Linked DNA regions of Homo sapiens: all the other regions are linked to region 1. The links are contacts of gene promoters, found by promoter capture Hi-C in blood cells and fetal thymus (Javierre and others, 2016). All regions are on one chromosome and are shown on one strand. Each heading gives the region's core, a stretch centred on a gene start or on the middle of the fragment in contact. The rest is flanking DNA. Distances are from core to core; before and after follow the strand shown.

The links. Contacts are between HindIII fragments. The CHiCAGO score rates a contact against its expected background, and 5 or more counts as called.
Region 2: a contact is called between a fragment that was not itself captured here and the fragment with the promoter of PRKCH-AS2 in region 1, in 6 of 17 cell types (total CD8 T cells, total CD4 T cells, non-activated CD4 T cells and 3 more). The highest score is 9.6, in total CD8 T cells.
Region 3: a fragment that was not itself captured here is called in contact with the fragment with the promoter of PRKCH-AS2 in region 1 in 12 of 17 cell types (neutrophils, activated CD4 T cells, naive CD8 T cells and 9 more); the score reaches 31.7 in neutrophils.
Region 4: a fragment that was not itself captured here is called in contact with the fragment with the promoter of PRKCH-AS2 in region 1 in 1 of 17 cell types (activated CD4 T cells); the score reaches 7.9 in activated CD4 T cells.
Region 5: a contact is called between a fragment that was not itself captured here and the fragment with the promoter of PRKCH-AS2 in region 1, in 1 of 17 cell types (activated CD4 T cells). The highest score is 5.3, in activated CD4 T cells.
Region 6: a contact is called between a fragment that was not itself captured here and the fragment with the promoter of PRKCH-AS2 in region 1, in 13 of 17 cell types (neutrophils, activated CD4 T cells, naive CD8 T cells and 10 more). The highest score is 32.1, in neutrophils.
Region 7: a contact is called between a fragment that was not itself captured here and the fragment with the promoter of PRKCH-AS2 in region 1, in 1 of 17 cell types (activated CD4 T cells). The highest score is 9.0, in activated CD4 T cells.

What each region holds. Positions count from the first base shown.
Region 1 is chr14:61,543,476-61,547,672 of GRCh38, forward strand. PRKCH-AS2 (PRKCH antisense RNA 2) reads right to left here and starts at 2,009. Exons shown (of 3, transcript NR_188139.1): 1 at 1,619-2,009. The region is part of intron 12 of PRKCH (protein kinase C eta); the gene reads left to right. The HindIII fragment of the contact is 1,799 bases long and covers 538-2,336 here.
Region 2 is chr14:61,300,063-61,304,259 of GRCh38, forward strand. PRKCH-AS1 (PRKCH antisense RNA 1) reads right to left here. Exons shown (of 5, transcript NR_186042.1): 3 at 728-1,202. It also overlaps a transcript of PRKCH not described here. Among named protein-coding and RNA genes, the nearest start is that of PRKCH, 19 kb to the right of the region's middle. The HindIII fragment of the contact is 2,625 bases long and covers 679-3,303 here.
Region 3 is chr14:61,753,452-61,757,648 of GRCh38, forward strand. No RefSeq gene overlaps it. Among named protein-coding and RNA genes, the nearest start is that of HIF1A-AS3, 4.5 kb to the left of the region's middle. RefSeq lists enhancers at 1,428-1,929, 1,534-2,733, 1,930-2,429, 3,132-3,717. The HindIII fragment of the contact is 3,776 bases long and covers 531-4,197 here.
Region 4 is chr14:61,346,261-61,350,457 of GRCh38, forward strand. The region is part of intron 1 of PRKCH (protein kinase C eta); the gene reads left to right. Among named protein-coding and RNA genes, the nearest start is that of PRKCH-AS1, 26 kb to the left of the region's middle. The HindIII fragment of the contact is 534 bases long and covers 1,647-2,180 here.
Region 5 is chr14:61,377,116-61,381,312 of GRCh38, forward strand. The region is part of intron 1 of PRKCH (protein kinase C eta); the gene reads left to right. Among named protein-coding and RNA genes, the nearest start is that of PRKCH-AS1, 56 kb to the left of the region's middle. The HindIII fragment of the contact is 2,366 bases long and covers 1,049-3,414 here.
Region 6 is chr14:61,684,366-61,688,562 of GRCh38, forward strand. All of the region lies in intron 1 of HIF1A-AS1 (HIF1A antisense RNA 1), which reads right to left. Among named protein-coding and RNA genes, the nearest start is that of HIF1A, 9.0 kb to the right of the region's middle. The HindIII fragment of the contact is 7,656 bases long and covers 1-4,197 here.
Region 7 is chr14:61,400,036-61,404,232 of GRCh38, forward strand. The region is part of intron 2 of PRKCH (protein kinase C eta); the gene reads left to right. Among named protein-coding and RNA genes, the nearest start is that of PRKCH-AS1, 79 kb to the left of the region's middle. The HindIII fragment of the contact is 3,947 bases long and covers 1-3,796 here.

The DNA.
Region 1 (4,197 bases), core at 759-3,258:
TTTTCCACCCTGGTCCCCTCACTCACTCTGTGCAGCTTATAAAGTGCTTTTCTTGGCCCTAGAAAACATTCTGCTTCCTTTAGTAAATGTGTGCAGAATATTTCATGAAGTCACATTATTTTCCTCTTTGGCCGACTTTCCCTCTTGGATCACAGTCAGGGAGAAAGTCAGCTGAGGTGAGGCAACTTTTCAGTGTGACCTTAAATGTGGATGAAAGTGATGGCCCCGAGGAGCACAATTGTTAACTTACTGGCATTTGGGTCCCATTAGGGACATAAGCAAATAATGAAAGTTTTCTGCAAAAGGATTATGCTGTCACCATTCACAGCAGTAGGAACAGAGAGTTTAGGGAAAGGCCTGTGCCCAGCCTAGGATGGCAAGCTATCCACCTCCAACTCCACACCATCTGCACCAACGTGAACTGTGAAAGATTTCAGGCCTGGGACTAATGTTAAATGTTCCCTTAACTCCTCATCTCCACATCACTGGACGGGGGTAGTGGTAGAAGGGCCACCCCACCACCACCACAACACACAAAGCTTCTACCCCCTTAGTATCACCCCGGACCCTCCTTCTCCCGGTCCTGGTTTCTGTTTCATGGTATTCATCCTCCTCTGGCCTCTTCATGGCATCCTCCAGCTGCCACTCTGGCTGCTTCTCACCCTACACCAGGGGTCAGGAGCCATGAAAGTCCGTGAGTGATACCAGCCAGGTGGGAGGTGATAGGGAGTGGTGGGGCATGTGACTGACTGGGCATCTGGTGCCCCATGAAAAGCAGAAGCCCCTGCTCAACTCCAGGCCGTTTCTATGAGAGGAGTGCAGGCCCAGTGTTCCCGAGTATCTCATTTTCCACGAGAAGTTGGAAAACCTGACTTTTCATGTGATGTGACATTTCCTAGCGTTTAAATATTTGAGAAGTAATTAAAATTATTTCAAAACACACTAGGTAGGCCAAATAAAATGTGTCTGAGACCTAGGGCTGGTATCAGTTCTAGTCTGTCTCTGTCACTTTCCACAATCTAACCTGCCCTCCCAGCTTCAGTGGTTACTCAAATTTCAATGTCTCTGAGCGTTAGATGGCCAGCCCTGGCCTGCACCCCAGATTTACCCTAGAATTCATCTGCATGTGGGTGCCCACACACCTCCAATGCAAAGCGGAGCCCATCAGCCTCCCAGATTTGGCAGACTGTAGGATCTCAGTAAGTGTGAGCTATTTTTGTCTTTGTTCCACTAACAAAAATACTACTACTACTAACACTGCTACTAATACTCATGCTACAAAGAATAATCTCTTGCCCCTCTTTTGTTCCATTTCTGTTACTCAACACCACTGCCCCATCAGGCAGCCAGGGAGGACCCTGTGATCTTGGACTCTTCACTCCCATTCCCGGCAGTTAGTGGATTGTGTTTATTCTTCCACGGCCCTCTAGAATGTGCTTCCAACTCTTCCTTCCAATTAACTAGAAACTCTCCTAGTTGCTGAACTTGTCATGTGTTCTCAGCTATTGTCTCAGCCTCTAACTGCTCACCACCAGGCGCTACCTCTGCATTTAAGATTTATTCATCACGCTGTGGCTAGTGTCATCCCCTAAATTGCCGTGCAGCTCTCATCACTCACCTCGGATGGATCCCACCGGCTGCCCCCGCAGTTCCTCAGCCATCCCTGCATGCCAGCTGTACCAGGCACTTGTATGCCTCTGCATTTGTGCTGGCTGTGTCCTCAGGCGCATTTTCTTCCTTCATGCCTACTATGTTAATTCTGTTCGTCCTCATCTCTGGTCAAATGCCACCTCTTCCACGAGGCTGTCACTTGCCTTCCCACCACCAGCCCCAGTGTTATTTGCCCCGTGCCTCTTCCAAGCTCTCACAGCACTTGATCTAAGTCTCTTTTCATTTCATCCGGCTGTGTATTATGAAGTTTGCTTGATTCTTCCCCCTTCTCTTGATTAGCTCCTGGATGAAGAGACACTGTCTTTGTCATCTGCGTATCCCCAAGAAACCCCTAGTGTGCTGCCTTACATGTAGTAGACACCTTGAAAACCTTTGTCAATTGAATCAAAGTTTGTTTGTGTGTGTGTGTGTTTTGTTTTTTCTTTTGGTTTGTTTTTTTTGTAAGTTGAGGATGGCTGCATCTAAAGGGCTCAGGCCAAGGTATTAAAAACAAAACTGCTTGGTTATTCAAAAGGATTTATCAGAACCCCAAGAGGCTAAGTATCAAGCTAGTGAAAGGGTTATTCTGCCTGTCCCCAATTCCAAGGGTGCAGTTTTTAGAGGACGGACGGTCGTGTTTGGTCTACTTGTCGTCAGGCAAGGCCTCTTCCACAGTGCCCCATGGAAGCTTGGGTTCAGTGCCAGGGGCAGGGAGGAATGGGCAAGCCTCTTGGACACTGGGGCTTCAGCCACCCTGGCATATAGAGTCCTGCACTGTTTGTCTTGCCCAGAAGAACAGGCTGTACCCACCCATTCACAAGATGTCCTCTCTCACATCATTGGCAGGCCTGGGAATTTCCCACAGGCCATCTGGGTGTGTTCTGCCGTCCTGTCTCCCAAGTTTTTTGCAGCATTGTTTCTTGTTAATTAGCTCTTAGAATAGCAACTGCTCTTCCATCAGGAATTGTATCCCGTTGACTTTCCTAAGGCAAGAATCTACTCATTTCTTTTTTGTAAGCATTTTCTCCCTTCCTGCCTGCATTGCACAGGCTTACTTAGTGAGAGCCCAAGCAGTGTGAACTAACTCCTAGCTCTTACAGAACTGAGTTACTTATAATATGCATCTCCTGAATCCTGGGTGACCACTGTAAGTGCCTGAAGTGGCAGCTGCTCTGACTGGGCCTGTGCAGCTCTGAATGCTGCATTTACTTTTGGGTCCTGCCTCCAACCCAGAACCACCTGTGGCCTTTAATTCCTGTTACTAGGAGAGAGGAGAAGCGATTAAACCCTGTCAGTATATTCATTTATTAGCTGCCCTTTGAAGCTTTTTTGAAAGCATTTTACAAGGTATATCCCGTCAGGTTGCTTAGGAACTTTTGCAGCCTCCTTCTTCAACATTATCATTTTCATTTGAATCAACACTGGCAGCTTGACACCTCTGGACACCTGGCATGGCAGTGGGAGGTACCTCCAAACACTGTCTTTCCGTGTCTGCACCTTCAACAAGATTTTCTCTGTAAATTCAGCTCCAAAACAATTTTTATAAACACAGCATTACTTTTGTGTTGTTCACAAATCAGATTTGGAAAGAGGTGCTTGGGGACTGTCATGAGTCTATTTAAAGATAACCTGATTTAAATAAAAACAAAAACAAAACTTTTTATCCAAGGCAATTTTCTTTCAATATGGGAAATTAAATTAGCTTCAGTGTCTTTGAAATTGAGAACCACACTCCGGCCATGAAAAGTGAATTATCCTGTACTAATCCTTGCTCAGGAAGTGATCAAAACACCTTTCCTGGCTATTTTGTGAAAGCAGATTTAGCCCAGCATATTTTGATAGGAGCCCAGCACTAAGGAAGTTTCCCAACTGATGGAAATACAGAGAATCTCTATGCACACATCGCTTAGCTGTGTGGCAGCGCTCGTTTTAGTTTTTGGTCTATGGAGCAATGGAATCTCAGTCATTGAACCTACTTCGAAACAGCAGTGGTGGGGGGAACATCTTGAAGAAAAGCCTTTCATCTAGAGCTATGATATCTTCGCTGCATAAAGAAAAGTGGCCAACTTTGTTTTTTCTAGAGCCAGGACACAGACCTTTTCAGTATGTCACCTTTGCTGCTTCTTCACACAGATCTTCAAAAATAACGACTCTCTCTCCTCTCTGTGGTCTCGTCAGAGAGCAGGAATCCTGGCCAGCTGGTCAGGTCACTCAGAAAAATGGCACAGCTGTTTCTGAAAGTAGCCCCATTCATAAGATGTCTGCTGCCCACAACTGCAGTGTTGGGGAAAGGCACACTGTTATAAAGAGCTTCTTTTCTTTAAAGAGGAAAGAAAAATACATGGTGTTTACAGAAAAGAAAACTGGACCCTCCTGCTTTCTTTTAGTGGCCATGTCTGAAATGGAAGTGGGAAAAGCCATAAATCCACACAGGCAATCGCGCCTTTAAGGCATGATTCATACTGACTGTGCTGCCTGTGATGGAAAACCCAGCTAGTTAAGCAAGACCTGCCAGAAAGTCTCGCACAGCTCCTCTGCCATGGCTGA
Region 2 (4,197 bases), core at 741-3,240, 240 kb before region 1:
GTATGTCCAAAGTCTCATTTCTCTACTTCACTTTATCTCATAATATAGTTTTCCTTTCTCTTTTCTATTTTTCATTTAATATTGAACTGGAGCATTTTTGAGCATTTCATTCAGTATCTGCTATCTAATCTTTTTGTTTTGTTGTGTGTTTTCTTTCTCGGGTTTTGGAATACTTCTGTAGGATATGTTTTCTTAGATAACATGTAACAGGAAGGGAATCAAATTCAAAGGAAAAAATGTTTAAATCATCTTCTCAAGACCAATAGTATATTCTGACTGAAAGAATCTCCATATGACTATCATTCAAGCACTTGATGAAACAGAATTTATTGAGCACCTGCTAAGCCTGGCAATATGACAGGCACTGGGAAAATGAGATAAAAGCACAGTCTTATGTTCAAAGATCACAATGTGGGGTAGAGGAGAATAACTATATTTAGACCATCAGAACACAGTATACAGGTGCTGTAAGGGAGATGTATACTGGGAGACAAGGGAACAGAGGGAGAATTTAAATCGTCATTGATATAGGAGTTAAAGAGAAATATTTAGGCAGATAGTGAGGGTAAGGAAGTCCTTGGTAAGGTTTTCCTTTTAATGAAAAGTAGCCCCCAAATCCTTCCTTTTCTAACAAAAGCAGGCTGAAAAATCGAGCTGCAGACTGATAAGCAAGCTGCAAGCTTGCACGGGTGAATGGCTGGCAGCTGTGACAATAGGAAAAGGCTACCTGGGGGCTAGGCATGTTCAGCATGGCAGTTCCATCTTCCCTTTTGTCAACCTTGTGAATGGTAAAGAACAGAAAACGTGGCACTGGCAAGGTAGAAAATCCATTTGCAGAATAAAAGATTAGGGTGGGGTGGTCAGCTTCTTCTCCTGTTATGTAAACATCACACCTGGTCCAACCGATCTTTGGGCCCTATGTAAATCAGACACCACCTCCTCAAGCCAGTCTATAAAACCTGTGTACTTCACCATGGGACCGGAAGACCCACTCAGGCGCCCCGCTCTCTCTGCAGGAGAGAGATTCTCTTTTCTCTTTCTTTCGCCTATTAAACTTCTGCTCTTAAATCCACTTCTCGTGTGTCCATGTCCTCGATTTCCTGGCTGAGAGAAGGAACCTCAGGTATTTACCCCAGACAATGACTCTACTTCATCATGGTGGTTCCAGAAAAATTACACTGAAGAAGGTTCACAAGCTAAATCTGGAAGGATGAATCAGTACAGTCATTATTATCATCACTGAAATAAATATGATTGGGTTTGAACTTTGGAACTTTTATTCAGAAGGAAAATAAACATTTTTCAAATAAAGTTGTAGGATATGTTTTGCATTTTAGCATATATCGTACCTAAGATATCTCAGGGGACTTTTTTACTTCAATTATATTTAAGATTTAAAATGTCAGAATGTTTCACATTTTGTGTTTATGTCATAGTTTTTGGCATGCAACTTATATGCTCAAGGTAACGTGTGCATACAGTGAAATGTACACATCTGTTCAGGCACTGAGGCTCATGCCTATAATCCCAAAACTTTGGGAGGCTAAGGCAGGAGGATTGCTTGAGCTCAGGAATTGGAGACCAGCCTGGTCAACATGGTGAGACCTTCTCTCTACAAAAAATACAAAATTAGCTGGGTGTGGTAGTGTGTGCCTGTAGTCCCAGCTACTCAGGAGGCTGAGGTGGGAGGATCACTGGAGTCTGGGAGTTCAAGGCTGCAGTGAGCTGTGATTGCACCATTGCATTCCAGCCTTGGTGACAGAATGAGATCCTGTCTGAAAAAGAAGTACATATCTTAAAGGCAAAATTTTATGGATTTACCAAATGATACACCCTTGTAACTACCACAAAAAGTTTATGATATAGAATTTTTTTCATCATTCCCAAGAGTTCTCTCATGTTCTCTTTCAGTTGACATTCTACATAGGCAACCACTGACCTAGTTTCTATCACTACAGAGTTTTCCCTGTTCTATTTCTTTAACAGAGACAGGGCTATTCAGATTTTCTGTTTCTTCTTGTGTCAGATTTTTACATGTTGTATTTTTCAAGAAATGTGTCCAATTTATCTAAGTTGTTGAATTTATTGGCATAATGTTATGCACAATATTTCCTTATTATTCTATTAATAACTATGTGATCTGTGGCATAAAATGTAAGCAAATACTTACCATAAATCCTGCCTTAAGCAAATTATAGGCTGTGAAGCATATAGCATTCTTGCCTTTCCCAGAGGGGTCCACTTCAGTTGTTTTACACAGTCCTTCTGAAGCAGGACTTACATGCCTTTCTTTATGGCATATAAGCCCTGGGTCCGGGTTGGGGGAAAGTGTGGGGATCCACCATCTCATCTCATGGCTGCCCTAGACATGGCTTCTGTTCCTAAGTTCCTATTAAAGGTTTCTTTCTGAGAAAACGGATTTGTCAGCCTCTTTCTTCAACATCTCAGCTACCTTAATTTTGGGGGGTAGGTTTGCATAGACCTGCTGTCTATGGAACATCCACAAATTTTGATTTTTAAAATTATTATTCAGGCTAAAATATCTTTTAAATTTACTGTGATTTCTTCTTTAACTCAGTTATTTAGAACTATGTTGTGGGACTTCCAAATATTTGGGAGTTTTAAGATATCTTATTGTTATTGATTTCTAATTTCATTCTGTTATGTTTAGAGAGCATATTCTGTATTTTTCAATCCTTTGAAATTTATTAAGCCACATTTTATATTTCAGCACGAGATCTATCTTGGTAACTAGTCCATGTGCACTTGAAAATCGTTGTTTATTCTGCAGATACTAGGTGAAGTATTCTCTATTTATCAATTAGGTTAAGTTGGTTGATAGTGTTCAAATCATTTATATTCACATATCTATGTCTAGTTCTACAAAGTACATGTAGGTGAATTAAAAATGTTCAACTGTGATTACAGATTTGTATATTTGTTCCTTCAATTTTTTTTTTTTTTTTTTGAGACAGGGTCTCACTCTGTCATCCAGGCTGGAGTGCAGTGGCATGATCTGATCACAGCTCATTGCAGCCTTGACCTCCTGAGTTCAAACAATCCTCCTGCCCCAGCCTCTCGAGTAGCTACAGATGCTACAGCTACAGATGTCTATCACCATGCCCACCTAATTTTAAAATTTTTTTGTAGAGACAGGATCTCACTATGTTGCCCAGGCTAGTCTCGAACTCCTGGGCTTGAGCATTCCTCCCACCTTGGCCTCCCAAAGTTCTGGGATTATAGGCATGAGCCACTGTGCTGGGCCTGTTCCTTTAATTTTCATATCTTGCTTCTTATACTTGAAGCTTTTTAGTCACATAAACATTTATATTTTTTATGTCTTCATGATGAAATGACCATTTTTCATTAAGGAATGTCACTCTTCAACTTTGATAATTCTTTTTGACTTGAAGTTTGTTTTGTATAATAATAGTATATCAATACCAGGTTTCTTAGATTTGCTTGGTCTATGTTTTCCCTTCCTTTTACTTTCAACCTATCTGGATCTTTAAAATGCATTGCATCTCATGCCAAAGCTCTTACTTGAATCTTGCTTTTTATTCATCCTTGCAATCTTTTTCTTTTCTTTGGACTGTTTAGTTCATTTATATTTAATATAATTATTGATTTGGTAGGATTTAAGTCTATCACCTTGCTATTTGTTTTCTGCTTGTCTCATTTTTTGTTTGTTTCTCATTTCCTCCTTCATGGCTTTATTTTGGTTTATACAATATTCTTAGTATTCTAATTCATTTATTGATTTTAAAGTTATATGTCTGTATTTTTTTTTTTTTATGGTTGCTATAGGGCAGCATTCTCCAACTAAATGTTCTTTAGTAGTGAAAATGTTCTATGTCTTTCCAATATGGTAGACACTGGCTACCTGTGACTGTTGATACCTTGAAATATGGCTAGTACAACTGAAGACTGAAATTTAAATTTTATTTATTTTTAATTAATTTAAGTTTAAATTTAGTCACTTGTGGCTACTGACTACCATAGTAGTCAGCACAACCTTAACAGTCTGTTTAGAGTTAATATTATACTACTTCATGTGAAATGTAAGAATCTTACAATAGTACAATTTTGTTAACTCTGTCCTTTTTTTCTTTCTCCAAAAGCATTGCTTAAAATAAACACACACACACACACACAAACAAAACCCTCTGTCCTTTTTTGTTATTGCTGTCATGTATT
Region 3 (4,197 bases), core at 1,169-3,668, 210 kb after region 1:
TCTACCATATATAGTCTGACACAGTCCTTTGCTTTTCTTAAATTATAATTATGGAAACTTGAACATGTACAAAAGTAAAGAGACTATAATGATGCCAAAGTGTCTTTGCAATTTGTGTTCTCTGGGAAGTAGACTCTGAGATGGAGATTTCAGGTGATTTATTGGGGAGTGCTTTTCAACACATGTGGAAGAGAAAGAACAGAAGTAGGCAGAGGGAGAAACAGCTGAGGAGCAGTCCCAACAAAGCCTTTAGCAGCCACATGGGGAGCTCTGGAACTGCAATAGCCCTTGAGACTTGTCCCAAGTTACAGGGAGTATGGAGGCCTTTACACCCCTACACTGATCAGTCCCTTGATGTGGGCTGCCCCCAGGAGACATGACCTTTAGTAAGGCAGGTTTCTTCACCTGAGACAATCCCCAGAAAGGGCTGACAGCTGAAGACCATCTTCTGCTGCACTTCCAGCAGCTTGGAGAGTAAGTGGTTCATTCCTGAGACATCTGTGTGTCATCACAATATCACCCACAGTGCAAGCTTTAACAGGGGTCAACTCATGGATGATCTTTTTTTCAGCTGTACCTCTACATACACGCACACACACACAAGTGTACCCATTATTTTGGTTTTTGGGTTTTTGTGGGTTTTTTTGAAATTGAGTCTCACTGTGTCGCCCAGGATGGAGTACTGTGGCACGATCTCGGCTCACTGCACCCTCTGTCTCCTGTGTTCAAGCGATTCTCCTGCCTCAAATTTTTGTATTTTTAGTAGAGATGGGGTTTCACTATGTTGGCCAGGCTGGTCTCAAACTCCTGACCTCTGCTGAGCCACCTGCCTTGGCCTCCCAAAGTGCTGGGATTATAGGCGAGAGTGAGCCACTGTGCCCGGCCAATAGCTACTAAATTTTAAAATTACTTTTTTCCTGTTAACAAAAGTAATCATATTCCTTGTAAAATGTTATAAAGATACAGAAATGAATTATGTAAGAAGTAAAGTCCTTTGGCACTCCACCTCCAAGGACAACTACTGTTTTACATTCATTATACTGTTCCCATTGAGAACATTTGAAATATAGAAATAACATAATCATAGTGAGAGAGAAAGGGCAGGTCTTTAATTTTCCTTTACCACCTTGGAATGTAAATAAATGGTTCCAAGTGAGAGAAGTCTCTAGATCTCTTCCGAATTTTCTTCTTTAAGATTGATATCTAGTTATCCTTTACTCAAACGGTTCAGGAGCACTGAGAAATCCAGGGAGAAAAATCTTCCAACTCAAGGCATTCCAGGCCTTGAGACCTCTTGCCTATTTGTCCAAATTCTGCTAACTTCTTTCCCTTGCGTCCTGTGTCCCAGTGATGTAACCTTCTAACACGCTCTCTGACCTCTTTGTCCTTTGTAGTTGCTTTCTCTCTGTGTCTGCAACACCCTTCTTATTTCATCTTCATCTCCTTAATTTCCTGCATTTTTCACAACTCATTTCTACTTTAGAAAGCCTATCCTCTCAGGGACTGGATTAGGAGATTCTCCTCAGTGTTCCCATTTTGTGTGGTGTTTAACTCTTGCACGGTATTAATCACACTAAAATTGTACTTATGTACTTGAAGTGAATTGTTCTGTACTAAATGATGAGCAACCTGAAGATAGGAGTTATGCCTTTAAATGCATACCTAGCAGAATGGCAGCTTAAAGAGCTCTGTGGCCTCACTCCCCATGAAACAACTGTAACTGGTGAAGCACTTTAAAAACAACCATTTAAAGTTTATTGAAACTGCCCAAAGGTTATACAGCAAATGAAGAACTGTTTATTCAAGAAAATCTACTACATCTTGGTAAGAACAGCAATAGTTAGTCAGAGGTACTCTCAAGTACCATGCCTCACATGCCACTCCTCACATGCCACTCATGCCTCACATGCCACTCATGCCTCACATGCCACTCATGCCTCACATGCCACTCATGCCTCACATGCCACTCATGCCTCACATGCCACTCATGCCTCACATGCCACTCATGCCTCACATGCCACTCATGCCTCACATGCCACTCATGCCTCACATGCCACTCATGCCTCACATGACTTGCTGCTTCTACCACCTTGCCCACCTTGAGGAAAGTTCCACACAGGTGGGTATGGCCAAGAAGATGGGGCTCCTTCTTCTCCCAAATCCCAGTAGAGGACTATGAGCATTTTGGTCACAACCATTTAACCAGTCTTTAGGAAATTCCAAACTTTCCCTCATCTTCCTGTCTTCTGAGCCCTTCAAACTCTTCCAGCCTCTGCTCATTACTCCTGTGCTCATTACTCTATGAAAGGAAAATAAATCTCAGAACCACAAAATCACTAAACCAAGGGAAAAGTCAAGCTGAGAACAATGTCTTATTTAGGAATAAAACTTCTAAATGAAGTTGTCCTGCCTAATCGGACCAAACCAATGTATATCTTACACATATTGATTGATGTTTCATGTCTCCTTAAAATGTACAAAAGCAACCCAATCACCTTCAGCACATGTCTTCAGGACCTCCTGAGGCTGTGTCACCAGTGTGTCCTTAACCTTGGCAAAATAAACTTTCTAAATTGATTGAGATTTGTTCTAGATACCTTTTGGTTTACAGTTTGAAAGCCACTTCCACATCTTTGTAGCAATGCCTCAATCCTGGTACCAATTTTCTGTGTTAGTCCACTCGTGTGTTGCTATAAAGAAGGACCTGAGGCTTGGTAATTTATAAAGAAAAGAGGTTTAATTGGCTCATGGTTCTGCAGCCTGTATAGGAAGCATGGCACCAGCATCTGCTTGGCTTCTAGTGAGGCCTCAGGAGCTTCCAATTATGGCAGAAGGTGAAGGGGGAGCCAGCACATCTCATGGTGAGAGAGGGAGCAAGAGAGAGAAAGAGGACGTCCCAGACTCTTTTAAACAACCAGATCTTGTGTGAACTAACTGAACAAGAACTCACTTAGCACCAAAAGGATGGTGCTAAACCATTCGTGAGGGATCCACCTCCATGATCCAATCACCTCCCACCAGGCCCTACCTCCAACATTGGGAATCACATTTTATCATGAGATTTGGAGGGGACAAACATCCAAACCATATTGTGTATCTCCCTGGAGGGACAAGCTGCCAGCATTTCTACCCGCTCTCATGTTCTGTTGCAAAGGCTAAATTCCAGATGAGTGTGGCCTGGAGAATGGAAAGACTGGGGACTCCTTTCCTCCTTTCAGACTGCATTCACAGAGCAGTGGCTCTATCCCAGGTGTAGCAGACTGAGAGTAGTGGAGCCCCAGTTGCCCTTATTGCAGCTCACATATAGGGTGCGAGTTCCAAGCAAGGACAGGCAAGCTGAGAAGAATGAATGGAAGCTACTTCCCCCTTGCAGAGCCTTGCTTATAAAGCAGGAGAGTCAGCCAGGCGTGGTGGCTCACGCCTGTAATCTCAGCACTTTGGGAGGCCGAGGTGGGCGGATCACTTGAAGTCAGGAGTTCAAGACCAGCCTGGCCAACATGGTGAAACCCCGTCTCTACTAAAAACACAAAAAGTTAGCTGGGCATGGTGGCGTGTGCCTGTAATCCCAGCTACTTGGGAGGCTGAGGCAGGACAATCACTTGAATCCGGGAGGTGGAGGTTGCAGTGAGCCGAGATCGTGCCACTGCACTCCAGCCTGGGGAGCAAGAGTGAAACTCCATCTCAAAAAAAAAAAAAAAAAAAAATGAAGGAGAGTTACTCTGAGAGAAGAAAGTGACTGTCCCCATCCTCAGCTCTGGCTGGAGCAGTGGCTCAGAGATTTTGCTCAGGGGGAGAAACATCCATAAGAAAAGAAAATTCTGAAGCTCTTCCCAGAAGAAATTAGTTTATTTGGAACGGAGTAGGGGAAAACTTGAACCTAAAGGTGCTCTTAAAAACAATGGATATTTTGGTTGTAAGCAATTAAGAGGAGGCTAGTACCTTCTAAAAGCAACAAGCTAAACTGCAGACCACTAGTTTACCAGAAAAAGCTAGGGAAGAAATGGCTAAGAAGAGCCTTCCTGGGATCAGAGCAAACCTCAAGATTGAACTCAAAAACTACCTCTGCAAAGGAGCCTAAATTTAATCAGATTAGACAATGGAGTAATTTATTCCCCCAGGGCATTGTCAAAAACAACAGAGCAATCAGCTAGCAATTAGTGGACTCTAACAGCTGGGTGGATACTAAAAGGCAGACAG
Region 4 (4,197 bases), core at 664-3,163, 200 kb before region 1:
TTGGATATATCTCCCCTTAAACATTGTGCTGGCTACACTATCCATTTCTATAATACCTTTGATTTTATCCTCTTTACTCCTAACAGTGAATTCCTAGGTAAAGTCACAACTGAATTTATCAGCACAAGCATGCTGCATCATGTTGTACGTTCTGCAAACAGTAACTTGAGATAGTGTGTCATTTCCCAGTTCTTAAGGCTGTGGCCTACACCAATGGTCTTATTTTCCCTTTTGATTTTTTCAAAATTAACTGTTATTTTGCCAATAAGTTTAACATTTCATTGGAGCAATTATTACGTGTCTGGGGTTATGCAACACATGGGATGTGCAGAAATAAAAAGATAGTTTCCCTGCCCTCAAGGAGCTTGTCTTATAGGGGAAACAGATACATAAACACTTCTAGGGCACACAGATTTTCATGTATGTGTGTACTATGGTGTTAATGCAGAATTCTGTAAAGGAATAAAGCTTCCATGATCAAAGCAAGCATGGGCAAATGCTTCACATCTTTCTGCCTGTGTTTTGCGAGCCCATTCTGTTTAATGTGGACTTGATTTAAAGTCGACCTGCAGTCCTGGACTTCAACCAAACAGCCATTATAGTAATGAACATTTAAAGGAGTTATTTTTCCAAAGCATTATAGTTTTTCACATCCATCTTTTCATTCCCTCATTAGCTAATGATGTTGATGTCCTCACAAGCATTGTTTAGGAATGGCTTAGGAATTTTACCGTATGTTTACTTTGGCTTGTCTGCTGCCCCTTGCTTTGTAATCTGTTCACCGGTGATTCAGTTGTTTCTTTGAGTCCCTTTGAAATTGCAAGTTGACGGGTGGGGACTGGTGGGGAAAGAAATCCAGAATAGATATTCCTAAAACTGTGAAGTGAAAATTCAGGAGAGACTGTCATAACTCTGCTTATTTAAGGTGGTTTGGTTTGTGCCAAGCTAAAGGAGGGAATATTGATTGAATTACTTTTTTAAAATGCAATTAATTTTTATTTAATTGTTTTCCCTGGAGTTGTGGGGTTGAGGTATTGCAGTTTAAAGCAGTTTGGATGTGCTGATAATTTTTTTCTGATTATCTTCAAGTCTCCATGGACAGTGTCACTGCAGGTCTATTCATGCTTTCGTTCCTCCTTTACCTGCCTTCATCTGCTTTCTCTGGGCATTGGTACCCATACCCAGGTGTGGTCAGTTGGAGTAACTCCTGCCTTGCTGGGCTTAACTGTGGTGTTTCTGGGCCTAAGGCAATTGGAACATCTGTAGTTTATTTCCTAATCCCAATTTTGTGGAGGTTTGTGTTCTAGCTTTGATTCAATTACTCCTAAGTAGTGGCCCGTATTAAGTAGAGGCTGTGTGAGACAAGACACTTAATGTAGGCCCCTTGGAGCTGCTGGGTCCTTTTCATCAGAATTTGGCTAATGATGCCTCTCTCTTTTTTACACACTAAAGCCTAATATAACTAGTAATGAACCTCATTAATAATTTGTATTGGCAGATGTGAGGTGTCACACATTAAAACTGTTTTACACCATGAGCATTGACTTCATTCGGTCAGTGAGGGAGGATGCAACCACCTTTGCCAAAATAGGAAGGAAGAGAAGACCCAGAGTTTTCAGGGAACGGAATTAAATAGCACTTTAACAAGCTTGGCGGAGGCAGTGGGGTGAGGAGAGGAAGTTAATAGGCCCAGGGAGGAGAGTATCTCACTGGTTTCTCCAAGCTGATTCTTCTGGGTGCCAAGAGAGCTGTGGAAACCCACAGAGGAATGCCCCGGTTCCTTTCCTTCCTTCTTTCTGGTAAGGGTTTAGATCTATTTATTTGATGGTCAGCCTTCCAGTTTTATCAGCACCGGTCTCTTTGTACAACTTCCCAAATGTACAAACTCCAGACAGATGAGTACAGTTGGTGTTTTCCGGGGAGGGTGTTGCTCCCTGTGGTCTGTCACAGCCAGAGAGCAGGGGGCCAGAGAGAGGACTGATTGCCCATATGTTCCACATGAGTCGTCAGTGGTGCACCCAGTTTTAAAATGCTCTGGGGGTGTGTGGCCATGAAGTGGATTTTGAATGAATAGAAGGAAAAAGCTCGTGGATGAAAACCATGAGCCATTTGAACCGTGTGTGGTGTCTGGAAAAACAGGTGGTCTGGCAAAACTGACAAAGTTTGCTTGGGGAAACAGAAGCTTTGCCTCCACCTCTGATGCTTGGGCTGGGATGAAATAAGCCACTTTTCTGTTTAGACTGTGTTTAGATGGAGGGAAGCTTCTTCAGTTCTTTATTGGGTGCAGTGAATGGCAGAACTTTTATTACTTGCATTCTTAATTTTAGTTAGCCATGCTGAGCTGGGTTTACACCCACCTTGGTATGTAATTTCTGTGACCTGTTCCGCTTCCTTCTCTCCTGTCACAGTCACCAAAAGCCACTATGGGTAGCCATTTGTTAATATCACCTTTATTAGGAGTCCTCCAGGCTCAGTTAAGGTCTCCCTCCATCTTTCCACCCCCACTATTTTATGCCTTCGTAGCCACTGGCACTCTGCCTTGCGGCACTTGCACATATTTATAATCAGTGAGTCACCCTCCTAGACTGTAAGCACCATGAGGGCAAGATCTGCAGCCCACCAGCAGCCTCTGCTTCCAGCACAGCACTTGGCACACAGGAAGCACTCTCTTAGTATTTGTTGTACTTGTCAGTGTTTGTTGCCTGAATGACACAGAAGTGTTCCCTGCTGGAGAAGGGATTCGAGTTAAATGGAATCATCCAGAGAATTTGATAAAATGATGATGGCTATCCGTTTATGCTCTTAAAAGTATGCACTTGAGACCTCTAAGTAGATGTTTATTTGTTTATCCCTTTCCAGGGTTCATGTGTTTATCTTGTTTCCTTTTGTATGCATTTTCTGCTTTGCCCCTCACATAGTAATTCTTGGAAGCAAGTAGATCATTGTTTCCATTTCAGTTGAGATCACTTTAGGGGCATGTCTTGGACTTGATGACAGATCTTCCACTATCTTATGCTCCCTACCTCACATTTATTGAGTACCTACTATGTACCAATCCTTAACATTTGTTATTCCAGTTTATCTTCCATCAGTCCTGTTGAGGTAGATATTGTGCCCCATTTTACAGATGAGGAAATCAAGGTTCTGAGAGATTAGATAATTTCTAGGAACATACAACCAATAAAAGGGAAAGGAAGAGTCTGAGTTCAAACCCAGTTCTTTGGTGCTAGGGGTACAGCTGCTGTCTGCAGGGCATGCCAGATGACACCTTTTTGACTCTTTTGGTAGGAAATGGGGAGGAATGCTTGTCACCTTAGAAATGCTGTTCGAGGTTGCTCACACCTGTAATCCCAGAACTTTGGGAGGCCGAGGTGGGTGGATTACAAGGTCAGGAGTTCGAGACCAGCCTGGCCAACATGGTGAAACCCTGTCTCTACTAAAAATACAAAAATTAGCCGGGCATGGAAGTGTACACCTGTAATCCCAGCTACTCAGGAGGCTGAGGCAGGATAATTGCTTGAACCTGGGAGGCGGAGGCTGCAGTAAGCTGAGATCATGCCACTGCCCTCCAGCCTGGGCAACAGAACGAGACTCCATCTCAGAAAATAAAAAAAAAAGAAATGCTGGTATGTCCAAGTCTGTGTTCACTCTTATGTTCATGGTTGTTTTACAAAAGCTGTATTTAGCAAGCACTCAATGACAAGTTATGCCAGCACTGTGCTTGGCATAACTTGGATATATAGGTGAATGAGGCAGCCATACAGAGAAATATGACAAGAGTATGTTTTAAATGCCCCAAAGAAGGTTTATGGAAGGTGCTACAGGAATGTGGAGCTGGGAAAATAACCATCATTTATATAGTGCTTTATATGCTGTCTCTTGCTTTTATATTTGCCCCCATTGTATTGTCTTTCTCTCTCACCTTTCCTCCACGTCTCCTCCCCTCTCCGGAATTTCAGGATTTGGATGCATGTGTACATTTAAGATTTGTTCTAAATACTTGAAAGCACGCTTGCTTGTTAGTTACCTGTCCAAAGCCTGTTGACTGCTGGGCCCCAGAGGAACACTAGCATGTGCCCTTGCCCCGCCTGTTTCTTTGTATACAAACAGTATACAAAACATAGAGAAGAGAACTGACAGATATTTAGATCTATGGGCTTTTATAGAAAATAAGAATTACTTTTCTTCTGTAAGGTC
Region 5 (4,197 bases), core at 982-3,481, 170 kb before region 1:
AAAGACCTCATCTTCCATATCTGCACATTTGGCTTCTCCTCTCTTTTGAAGCTGCTTGTTTCCATGTCCCATGATGCTAAACTTGGGGACTCCTCCCACCTCTCAGATTGTATTTTCTCTGGTTCTTTCTTTCACTCCTTTAGTGAATTTGCTTTTTCTTTTCTTCTTTTCCTGTGCTCTTTCTTGAAAAATTTCACTGCTCTTAGACTTAGTGTTTACCTTTTGAGAAAAATTCCCAAATGATAACCCCAGCCGTATGTTTAACTACATGATTTGTCTTTATTTCCAACATCTTGCCAGATATTTCTATTTGAGTACTTTTGTGTCCAAATTTAAACTCATTTCTTTCCCTTTAAAACATGTTCTTTCCCTGAGTTCCCTGGCTGATTAGTGGCAACAGAGATGGGCAGATCTTTCTGTAAAGGGCCAGAGAGTAATATTTTTGTCTTCATGGGCCATAAGGTCTCAATCACAGCTACTCATCTTGTAGATAATATGTAACTAAAGGGTTGTGACTGTGTTTCAGTAAAACTTTACTTATCAAAATAGGCAGCAGCTGGCATTGGCCTTTGGGCTGCTGTTTGCTGACCCTGATCTAGGATACCCAGGCCCCAAACTCCATACTCCTTTGGCCTTTCCACTGCTTTTGTTTGCTCTCTTCACATGATTATTAATTTTCACTGATTTCACCCTTAGCAAACCATTCATACTTCTAGACCATAGCTGTCTGTCTATTCATTCATCTAGTAGACAAAATCTTCCTTTTACATGTTAATCTCTATCATTTTACATAATCAAAAACCTCTAGTGGCTCCCCTTGGCCTGCAATCTAAGGTTACAGTTCTCTGGGTGTAGCTCTTTCTGTGTTTTGCCTCCAGCCTTCTCTCTTACTCCTGTATGGACATTCCTCCAATGACACTGATCAAGTGTGTGTTCTGATATTAGTTCTATCACTTCTCACAGGTTGCTCCTGACTCAGAATGGTCTCACTTCCCACTAATTGAAACTTGCCTTCAGGCCTCAATTCAGGGTCTCACTTCCCAGGTAAAGCTTCGCCCTAGCCCAGTGATTGCTCCTCTCCTAGGGCTTTTTTTTTCTTTTTCTTTTTCTTTTTTTTTTTTTGAGACAGCATCTCTCTCTGTCACTTAGGCTGGAATGAAGTGGTGTGATCACTGCAGCCTCCAACTCCAGGGCTCAGGTGATCCTCCTGTTTCAGCCTCCCAAGTAGCTGGGATTACAAGCATGTACCACCACATCTGGCTAATTTTTTTTATAGAGATGGGGTCTTATTTTGTTGCTTAGGCTGTTCTGGAGCTCTGGCCTCAAGTGATCTTCCTATCTTGGCCTCCCAAAATACTGAGATTACAGATGTGAGCCGCCACACCCAGCACTGAATAGTGCTTTTGATGTTGCCACTGACCTATTCAGTTGAGACCGCATTGGGTTGTAATTTGTGGTGTTCCTCCCTCTCCATCTGAATTTTCAGAAGCTGTTAAGGACAGCCCAGTAGATGCTCAGATGTCATAGGTAAAGGTCATACATTGAACTCTTTGTCTTTCCTCCAGTTCTGCTTCCCCCTTGGAGTCCCTGTCTCAGTTAATGGCACCAGGGATCATCATTGCCTTGTGATTCTGACTCCTTCTCTTTCACCTCCACCCTACCTGCATCAGTTACGAAAAGTCCAGCTGCTGCTCCCTCCTATGTCTTTCTCCTATCTGCCCTCTCCTCTCCATCCCTTCTACTGCTGCCTTAGCTCAGGTCACCACTGTCTTTCACTCAGACCATTGGACTTGCCTTGAACATGAATTCCCACCACCAGCTTCTCTCCTCTTATAATCCCAACAGTTATGTATCGGGATCTGACATGTAGGTATGACCTTGTAACTTTCCTGATTGAAACCCCTCAGTGGCTCCCCATTGCCCTGGGATAAGGACCAGCCTGCCAGCATGTCGTGAGGCCATTATTGATTGGATGCACTTTCCTCTGCAGTCCTATTTCTGACTTGTCTCATTTACACAGCTTACATTTGATCATCTGTAACCCCTATACATCTTCTGTGCATTTGCACACTCCCCGTCTCTGTGTAGATGCCCCCCCTCCCCAGGTCCACTTGGAAAACCATCACCTGAATTTCTAGGCATTGTACAAACGTTCCCTCTTTTGTGGAGCTTTCGTCTCCTTCCCTCCAGAAGACCAAGAGGAGTAAAGGTGTTATCATAGAATAACTGTTGGGATAGAGATATAGGCTTCATCTATTTTCTAATGCCTCCTCAGATTCAGAGTCTTCCAAAGTTTCCCTGCAGACTGAGCAATGAATAATTAAGCAAACAAGTCTCTAAAACATCTTGAAATGCTTATGTATGCTAAATATGTAGTTTTGAGTTCTTGTTTTGGTTTTGCTGGAGCTTTTGCCTTCTTCCTCCATTACAATGGATGATGAGAATCAACAATGTAGAATTATTCTCGGTTAGTTTATATCTTGTTTTTAACCTGGTATCTTCAGTGTGTTAAGACATTTTTCCTTTCTTGTGGGGGTTCCCCTGCAAAGAAGGAGGCTCACTTGTGGGGCCGATGACCACTGTCTCTAGGCAACCCAGAGAGGTGTGAAAGAAAGAAGGGGGCTGTGAGGCTGCAGGGAGTATATTCCCCATCTCCAGCCAGGGTCACACCTGTCACTTCTGTTTAGTACCTCTTCCTAGTAAGGAGAACGTATGCTCCCTTTCTGGAAGGGTCTACTTAGCAGAAACGAGGAGTGGCGAGCTCATGTGGAAAGTGCTTTTTTGATGTGTTCTTTCATGTAGGGGACACACGGTGTGGAGGGGATGCACAATTACTCTTCTGTGGTTCCTCTTTCTTACTCCAGGGTCTCCTTTGCCATGAGGTCCCTAGGGACGTCTTATCAGAGGAGAAGAAAAGTACCTTCTTAGTTCTTTTTTGTTTTGTTTTGTTTTGTTTTATTATGGGGTTTCACTTTGTCACCTGGGCTCTCCGGGGTGCAGTGTTGGAATCGTGGTTCATTGCAGCCTTGACCTCCCAGGCTCAAGTGATCCTCCCACCTCAACCTCCCAAGCAGCTGGGACTACAGGTGCATGCCACCACACCTGGCTATTTTTTATTTTTTATAGAGATGAGATCTCCCTGTGTTGCGCAGACTAATCTTGAACTCCTGGACTCAAGTGATCCTCCTGCCTTGGCCTCCCAAAGTGTTGGGATTTCAGGTGTGCCTTGGCCTCCCAAAGTGTTGGGATTTCAGGTGTGAGCCACTGCAGCCAACCCCTTCTTAGTTCTGGAGAGCAGAGTCTTGCCTGGCATCCTGGTGCTATACCAAGAGTCCTCTCCTGGTTTCCAGAGAGGACATTTGACTTCTTCAGGAGAACTCACCCCACTCCTTTTGGTCCATTAGGAGCACCAGAAGCTTTGGACCTGATGGGCTGGGCTTGGTCTCTTCAGAGCCTCTGTCCTCATTCACAGAGGAGGTATCAGGTAGGCCTTCCAGCACAGAATTACATTACCTGGGAATTTAAGTGGGAGGAATTGCAGTGGAGTATTTTGAAGATCCTAAGGCATCCTTCATTTAATTTACATTTTCGATTCTTCAGATATTGGAATCAAAGATTGAGACACACACATAACACTAGAGCACACAGTAGACCATTTCTACCTTGAGCTATCTCCTTGTTAGAGAAAAAATAGTTTTGACTGTTTGTGATTTTTTACTACGGGCAGAAAAACTTTGAAAAATTAATTTCAATGTAAAAGAGTTTTACTTTTGCCAGATGATAACACTTCCTATGCTAGAACCTGGGGGTACTGGGATCTGACTTGAAGTAATTCTAAGTTTAAATTTATAGCAACCATGTGGGTCTGTTCAGCTGGGAGGGGAGAAATATTGCGAGCCATAAGGATGTATTTTAGAGAGTTTCTTTAGTAGTCTTCAGATGTCTACTTGCCCTGTACAAAGTTCAGAAACTGTTTAGGACTTGGAACCTTAGAATATCAGATAGAAAAGGATTGACAGGCTTAGTCTACTCTGTTTTTGAGATGCCGAAGCCAGGTGACTTCCCCTAGTGGCAGGTAGGCAATGTCAGAGTTGTGATCATGGCCTGGGGCTCTTTTCCAACCTGCTCTCTGACCTCACATAGGATCCGGATTGAGCAGGGTAAAGGGTGGACCAGTAAAGGCTTTAATCAGTAAAG
Region 6 (4,197 bases), core at 1,079-3,578, 140 kb after region 1:
GTTTTTTCCCCTGCAGTAATTCCCCCCACCTCCACATTCCATAGATGTGAGCATTTCGTACACACTATTATCGCAGTTGGAGTAGAATAAAGGAGCGACATGGTCTATAATCCTATTTCAACTGCTTCCTAGATTTTGGCTTTGTATTTGACCATACCTCTTTGACCATTAACTTACTGATGCATAATGTGATTACTAGAATTCCTACCTCATAGGGCTGTCACGATGCTTAAAGGAAAGAGCATATCTAAAATGCTTATTACAGTGTTTGGAATGTAGCAGGTGCTCAAGAAATGATTGTTCTTGTGTGCTGGGCACCGATCCTAGATTATGGGACTGCCAAGATAAAAGTGTTCCAGCCCATAAGGAGCTCACACTCTATCTACAGTTGCACACAAACCTGCAGATTAAACCAAAATATATGTCTGACTCAGTAGAATGGACACAATATATTGAATTAATGAATTATAAAATGATATAATCTAAGTAAGTTTACACATTGTATTGTCTGGGATGGGAGATAGAAAGCAGGCAAAGCCAATTCTTTTTTTTGTTTTTTCAGGATGGAGTCTTACTCTGTTACCCAGGCTAAAGTGCAGTGGCGCAATCTCGGCTCACTGCAACCTCCACCTCCCAGATTCAAGCGATTCTCCTGCCTCAGCCTCCCAAGTAGCTGGGATTCCAGGCACACGCCACCATGCCCAGCTAATTTTTGTATTTTTAGTAGAGACGGGGTTTCACTATGTTAGCCAGGCTTGTCTTGAACTCTTGACCTCGTGATCCACCCGCCTCGGCCTCCCAAAGTGCTGGGATTACAGCCGTGAGCCACCGCGCCCGGCCCTGCAAAGCAGAATCTTAATAAATATCCTTCTCCTGGTAATTTATTTATTTATTTTGAGGCAGTGTCTCACTCTGTCACCCAGGCTGGAGTGAAGTGGCATGAGCATGGCTCACTGCAGCCTCAAACTCCTAGGATCAAGCAATCCTCCTGCCTCAACCTCCCATATAGGTGAAACTACAGGCACACACTACCATGCCTGACTAATTTTTAAAATTTTTTTATAGAGATGGGGTCGCACTATGTTGCCCAGACTGACTTCAAACTCCTGGGCTCAAGCAATCCTCCCACCTTGACCTCCCAACGTGCTGGGATTACAAGCAGGAGCCACCATGCCTATCCTTTTCTGTTTATTAATATACCAACTTACAGCTAGCTACGCTATTTACTCTTCAGCTATTGAAACTGATCATTTTAACAATTTAAAATTAATTTTATGAGTGAAGAAATATATTGAAATCCTGTAAGTGTCTGAATCAGGGGAGACTATTACCATTAATTTTCAAAAATGCAACTCTGTTCTTTGTTATGTCTTCTTTTTCTAGAAATGTAATATCTTATGGAACTGTGGCTTTTAAGAATCTTCCAATTGACTTTGATGTTGGAGAAATACCAAATATCATTTTCCTTTCTAGTCAGAATATAGTGAATGGGATGTTTTATTAAGGTTTATTCTTACACATCAACCCTTTTGCTTCATTCAGAAAGATAGGAAAACGTGACTTTGGTTAAGAAAAAAAGGGGGATATTCATTTTGAAAGTGGCCTTGGATTAATTTTAAAAAAGGTATTCAGGCCAGGAGCAGTGGCTCAGTGGCTGACGCCTGTGATCCCAGCATTTTGGGAGGCCAAGGCGGGTGGATCACCAGGTCAAGAGATAGAGAGCATCCTGGCCAACAAGAGATAGAGACCATTCTGGCCAACATGGTGAAACCCCGTCTCTACTAATACAAAAAAATTAGCTGGGCATGGTGGCACGCACCTGTAGTCCCAGCTATTTGGGAGGCTGAGGCAGGAGAATCGCTTGAACCCGGGAGGTGGAGGTTGCAGTGAGCCGAGATCGCACCACTGCACTCCAGCCTGGTGACGGAGCGAGACTCCATCTCAAAAAAAAAAAAAAAGTATTAGTTTTTTTCCTTTTAATTAATAGACTTTATTTCTTAGAGCAGTTTTAGGTTTAAAGAAAAATTGAACAGAAGGTACAGAGAATTCCCATATACTCTCCCTTTCCTCACCACCCCCAGACTCATGGTTTTCCGTATTATTGACATCTTGCATCAGTTTGGGACACTTGTTACAACTTATGAACCAATATTGATACATGATTATTAACTAAAGTCTATAGTTTGTATTAAGGTTCTCCCTTAATGTTGTATAGTTATATGGGTTTTGCCTAATGCATAATGTCACGTATCTACCATTTGAGTACCATACAGAATAGTTTCACTGTCCTAAAAAATCCCCTATGTTCCACCTATGCATCCCTCCCCTCTTCCTGTTAATCTCTAGCAGCCACTGATCTTTTTACTAGCTCCATAGTTTTGCCTTTTCCAGAACGCTGTAGAGTTGGAGTCATACAATATATAGGCTTTTTGGATTGGCTTCTTTCACTTAGCAATAAGCATCTAAATTTCCTCCAAGTCTTTTGGTGGCTTGATAGCTCATTTCTGTTTATTGCTGAATAATATTTCATCATATAGATACAGCACAATTTGTTATCCATTCACCTATTAGCAATTCTTGATTGTCTACAATTTTTGGCAATTATGAATAAAGTTGCTATAACATTTGTTAGGTAACATATGAGTTTTCAACTCATGCAGGCAAATAACAAGGAGTGCAATTGCTGGATTGTATGGTAAGACTATGTTTAGTGTTGTAATACACTAACAAACTGTCTTTCAAAGTGGCTATACCATTTTGCATTTCACCAGCAATAAAAGAGAGTTCCAGTTGCTCCACATGCTCACCAGCATATGGTATTATCAGTGTTTTGGATTTTAGTAGTTTAAGAGTGTAGTGGTATCTCATTGTTATTTAAAATTTGCAATTCCCTAATGACATATGATGTAGAGCATCTTTACATATGCTTGTCTGTCATCTGTATGTCTTTAGTAAGGTTTGTTCAGATCTTATGCCCACTTTTTAACTTGGTTATTTATTTTCCTTTTGTTGAGTTTTAAGAGTTGTTTGTATATTTTTGATACAAGTCCTTTATCAGACATGTGTTTTGCAAATATTTTCTCCCAATGTGTGGCTTGTCTTTTCATTCTCTTAGCATTGTCTTTTGCAGAGAAAAGGTTTTCTAAATTTAATGAAGTCCAACTTAGCAATTTTTTCTTTCATGAATTATACTTTTGGTGTTGTATCTAAAAATTCATTGCCAAACCTAAGGTCAACCTAGAATTTTTCCTATGTCATTTTCCAGAAACTTTATAGTTTTCCATTTTCCATTTAGGTCTAGAATCCATTCTGAGTTAATTTTTGTGATAGGTGTAATAAGGTGAGAGTCTAAAGTTAATTTTCTTTGCGTGTGAATATCTAGTTGTTCCATCAGTATTTGCTAAAAAAAATTATTCTTTCTTTATTGAATTGCCTTTGCTCCTCTGTCAAAAACGAATGGCTATTTTTGGTGGCTATTGTTGTGTGGGCTTATTTCTGGGCTCTAAATTCTGTTCCACTGATCTATTTGTCTGTACTTTTGCCAGTACTACACTGTCTTGATTACTGTATGTTTATATTATAGCCTTGAAGTAGTAGTAGTGTCAGTCCTGTAAATTTGTTCTTCTTCAATACCATACTGGCTATTTGGTTTTGCCTTTCCATGTAAACATTAGAATCAGCTGGTTGATATCCACAAACTAAGTTGCTGGGGTTTTGATTTGGATTGTATTAAATCTATAGATCAACTGGAAAAAGAACTGACCTGTTAATATTGAATTTTCCTTTCCATGAACATGAACTATTTCTCCATTTATTTAGATTCCTTTGTTTTCTTTCATTCGAGTTTTGTAGTTTCCCTCATATAGATCTTATACATATTTTCTTAGATTTATACCTAAGTATTTCAATATTTTAGTGCTAATGTAAATGGTAATTTTTTTTTTTTTTGAGACAGAGTCTTGCTCTTGTCGTCCAGGGTGGAGTGCAGTGATGCGATTGCGGCTCAGTGAAACCTCCGCCTCCCACGTTCAAGCAATTCTTCTGCCTCAGCCTCCCGAGTAGCTGGAATTACAGGTGCCCGCCACCATACCCGGCTGATTTTTGTATTTGTTTTTAGTAGAGACGGGGTTTCACCACGTTGGCCAGGCTGGTTTCAAACTCCTAACGTCAGGTGATCCACCCGTCTCGGCCTCCCAA
Region 7 (4,197 bases), core at 573-3,072, 140 kb before region 1:
CTACTAAGGCAGTGCACAATGGTGCAGAATAAGAGTCTGATCTTTTTCTTTTTGTCCCATTGCCTCAGTTTTTAGCTCACATTTCTTGTCTCAAGCCCACTGGTTTACAAATAATTACGTTCTCTGCTAAGTCATGTGGCACATGGACCATCAAGGCAGATGAAGCATGTGTTACTGCTTTGAAGCTGCAGCCCACAGTTACCCCCTGTATCAACACTTCAGATGCATGTCATTTTTAAAGAGAAAAAGTGATTTCTGGTGGTAGTTGATTTATAGCATTCCTTTCTCAGATTTCAAGCCTGGTGACAAGTTGTTGATTTAATTTTTTTAAAATGTAGCTTTAAAAAAATTTATTCTTTTGGCATATTAGCTTGAAGAATGAGTGACCACTTTAGTTTTTGTGTTTGTTTTTTGCTGGTCTAAGCAATTGTGGCTATCAGGTTGAAGACAGGGTAGGAGAGAAAGAAAGGAATTGAGGGAATGGGAGAATAGGAACTGGAAACGGGCGAATGATGTTTTTAAAGGATTGAGACTAATTGTCCCTTGTCATAGATGCTCTCTCGTCTTCTCCATAATATCTAGCTCATTTGTTGAATGCCTTCTGAGGACCAGACACTGGAGTTGGCTTGTAATTTAGCAAATAGCAATGGGAGCCCTCATTTTATTTTCTGGTAGCAGGATAAACTCTTACCTAGTAACTGAGTACCTCTACGTGTTCATACCATGCTATATATTATTCCATTTTCTCTCTATAACAAATTTCTGAGGCTGTTGTAATTCTCAGTATGCAAATGGTGAACCAGACTCAGAGACGCTAATTTACTATGGTCTTTCCTGGATAGTAAGTGCCAGAGCCCAGACACAAGCTCAGATTGCAATGCTGAGGTCCAAGATCTTTCTACACCATCCAGCTATCTGAGGAGTTGGGGGTGGGGGGGCAGCATTTTAGTTTTTTTCTTTATTCCATCTTAGAGGAAAACTGTCCTCAGGATAGCATAATCCCACCCTCCAGAGAGTCTTGTCTTTTGGGATGATGTCTTTTTGCAAGGCTTCCCTTGAGTTCCTCCTCCTTAAACTGGAGGACCAACATTCACCCAGGAAAGGTGCAGCATTCTCAGACATCAGGCATGGATGGGCCAGAAAGCTCTAGGCAGATTGAGTTTAAGATTTGCTCAGGTTTTGTTGTCAGTAGGTTCTCTTAATGTACATCTTAAGCTAGAACTCAGAAGATGAAAATACAATCAGTGAGTTCAGCATAGGTATGATAGCTCTATTTGCCTTTTTATACCCCAGTCATCATTGGCTTCACTGTACCTACTTCTCTTATTTTGACTGACTGTAAGTGAAAAAACTAGGTGGTGGCTTTGTTGGAAATTTTAAAATTCATTCTCAAAGTGTGATCCTGCAGACTTCTGAGAGTTCCAGAGACATTTTCAGGAAGTCTGCAGTTCCAAACTGTTTTCCTTATAATACGAAGATTTTATTCATCCTTTTTTCCCCACTGTGTTGACATTTGCCCCAATGGTGCAAAAGAGAAATGGTGGGTAAAAGCATGGCACCAAACTATAAAGTCATCATTGTATTCTTGATGGCCACGTAGTTGCAGGAGGAAGAAATCTAGTTTCACTTAAGAATGTCTTTGATGGAACAGTAAACATTATTCATGTTATTAAAGGTCAATCCTTGACTATATACCTTTGTAACATTCTGTGTGACAAAATGGGAAATATGCTAAAAGCATTCCTGCTTCATACTGAAATACTGTTGTGTCTCAAGGAAAAGCACTTGTGTGATTGAGTTGTTAGCTGAGCTAGCCACTTTTTGCATGGAACACCATTTTTACTTTGAAAGAATGACAGACAAACCATACTGTGGAACTGGCAGATTTTTCAGACATTGTCTAAAAAACGAATGAACTGCGCCTGTTACTTCAGGGAAAACAACTGTAAGTATTTGGTGCCAGTGATAAAATTAGAGCCTTCAAAACATAATTCGAATTTTGGAAAGTTTATATCCACCATTGTGAGCTTGACAACTTCCCAGTACTTATTCTTTTCTCATGAGTTTGTTGTTATTAACGATTGTAATTTTTAAAAATTGTGTTATGAGATATGTCAACATTTAGAAGATGACTTCCAATGATTCAGTGAACACGTATTTTCACAATGGCCAGTACGAGATGTTATAAAATCATTTATGGGTCAAGGATCTCTTGAAAGCGTAAGGTAGACTCATGTATATTAATTTAAAGTATGAAAAGTTCATTGATACAGTTTTATATTGCAACCAACTTTTGAGAAACTACGCCTTGTTTACTTTTGTGTGGTATTAAAGAAGAATATCTGCAATTATCTGAAAAATCTATTAAAATTATATTTTTAAATTACTCTGTGTGAGGCTGGACTGTATTCATGTACTTCAACTAGAACAACATTACAGTGGCTTGAATACAGAAGCAGATATGAGAATCTAGCTGTCAGGCTGGGCGCAGTGGCTCACGCCTGTAATCCCAGCACTTTGGGAGGCCGAGGCGGGCAGATCACGAGGTCAGGAGATCAAGACCATCCTGGCCAACATGGTGAAACCCCGTCTCTACTAAAAATACAAAAAAAAATTAGCTGGGTGTGGTGGTGCGTGCCTGTAATCCCAGCTACTCGGGAGGCTGAGGCAGGAGAATCACTTGAACCAGGGAGTCAGAGGTTGCAGTGAGCCAATATTGTGCCACTGCACTCCAGCCTGGTGACAGAGCGAAACTCTGTCTCAAAAAAAAAGAAAAAAAGAAAAAAGAAAGAATCTAGCTGTCTTTTTTTTTAATTAATTAATTAATTTATTTATTTTATTTTTATTTATTATTATTAGACTTTAAGTTTTAGGGTACATGTGCACAATGTGCAGGTTAGTTACATATATATACATGTGCCATGCTGGTGCGCTGCACCCACTAACTCATCCTCTAGCATTAGGTATATCTCCCAATGCTATCCCTCCCGCCTCCCCACTAGCTGTCTTCTTTTAAGTCAGACATTAAAGAGATTTGCAAATTGTAAAATAATGCCACTCTCTCTATCTTTGGGGGGATGTTTGAAAATGTAGTTATATTTTATTAAAATGTGTATACTAACATGTAATGGAATTGTTATTGTTTTTAATAAATGATAAATATTTTTAAATGTCTCCATTTAAATTTCTAATTTGACAAATATCAGTAGAATCCATTCAAAGGGGTACTTGGACCAAAAAATTTTACAATTTCTAGGTTATTTTTTTCTTACATTCTTTCAAAAGCCCAGTGCTTTAAATTTTAATGACCACAGGGAGAAGGAACTGACACATATTTGTGTATGTTATAATCAGAAAAAAATATGTACAGTTAGGTGATACAGGTGACAGAATTGTCATTTTTTTGAAACTTTCTTTTTGTTTCTGATTATTTCTGCTGTGCAGTGTACTTTTTCAGCCAGTTTTTGTTATAAGCCTGTTCTCATAAAAATAAGGTCAGGAAGTGACACCAAAACAACTCAGAAGCCTGTGGTGGTTTCTAACTTTAGAGCTGCCTGTTACAGATAGCTTCATGCTAAACCTTTGCTTGATTTGAGCAGAACAAGGCAGTCACGATACTTCTGAACAAGTGATCAGTGCTGTGAGCACTAAAAGCTGAACCTCAAAAACAGCTCAAGATCCATGGACAGAGCCTCAGGAGACACATTTCTATGGCACTCGCTTACTGACTAGCATTCTCCTTTTCTAATCAAGGTTCTTGAAAAACAGAGGCTGACTCGTTTGTTAATTTTTTTCAAGCTTTATTGTTTTTTCCTTGAAATTATAGTGATGTGGTATTCTCTCTATGGAACTGAGGTTTGGGTAAAACAAGAATGATTTAATTTTTTGATAGAAAAGTTAATTGCTCCAGTGTCTGTTTTCATTATACTTCCATTTTATTTCCAGCAACCCCTTATCTCTCTGCTCTCTTTGTTTCAAATGAACAAGACAGTAGAGTTTGTTTTCCAGGCCACTTGTGTTGGTAACCCTTTTCCTAAGCTTTCCCTAATAACACCCTGTGTCAGTGGACAGGTAGTAGGTAGGAAGACCTGCTTCTTCCCTTCTACCGTGAAACTCGTCTTCAGCATCATTCTTTCATCCTGATGGCTGAGAGTTGTGTTCTGGTCTCAAGTCAGCAGTGGATAACCCACTGCATGA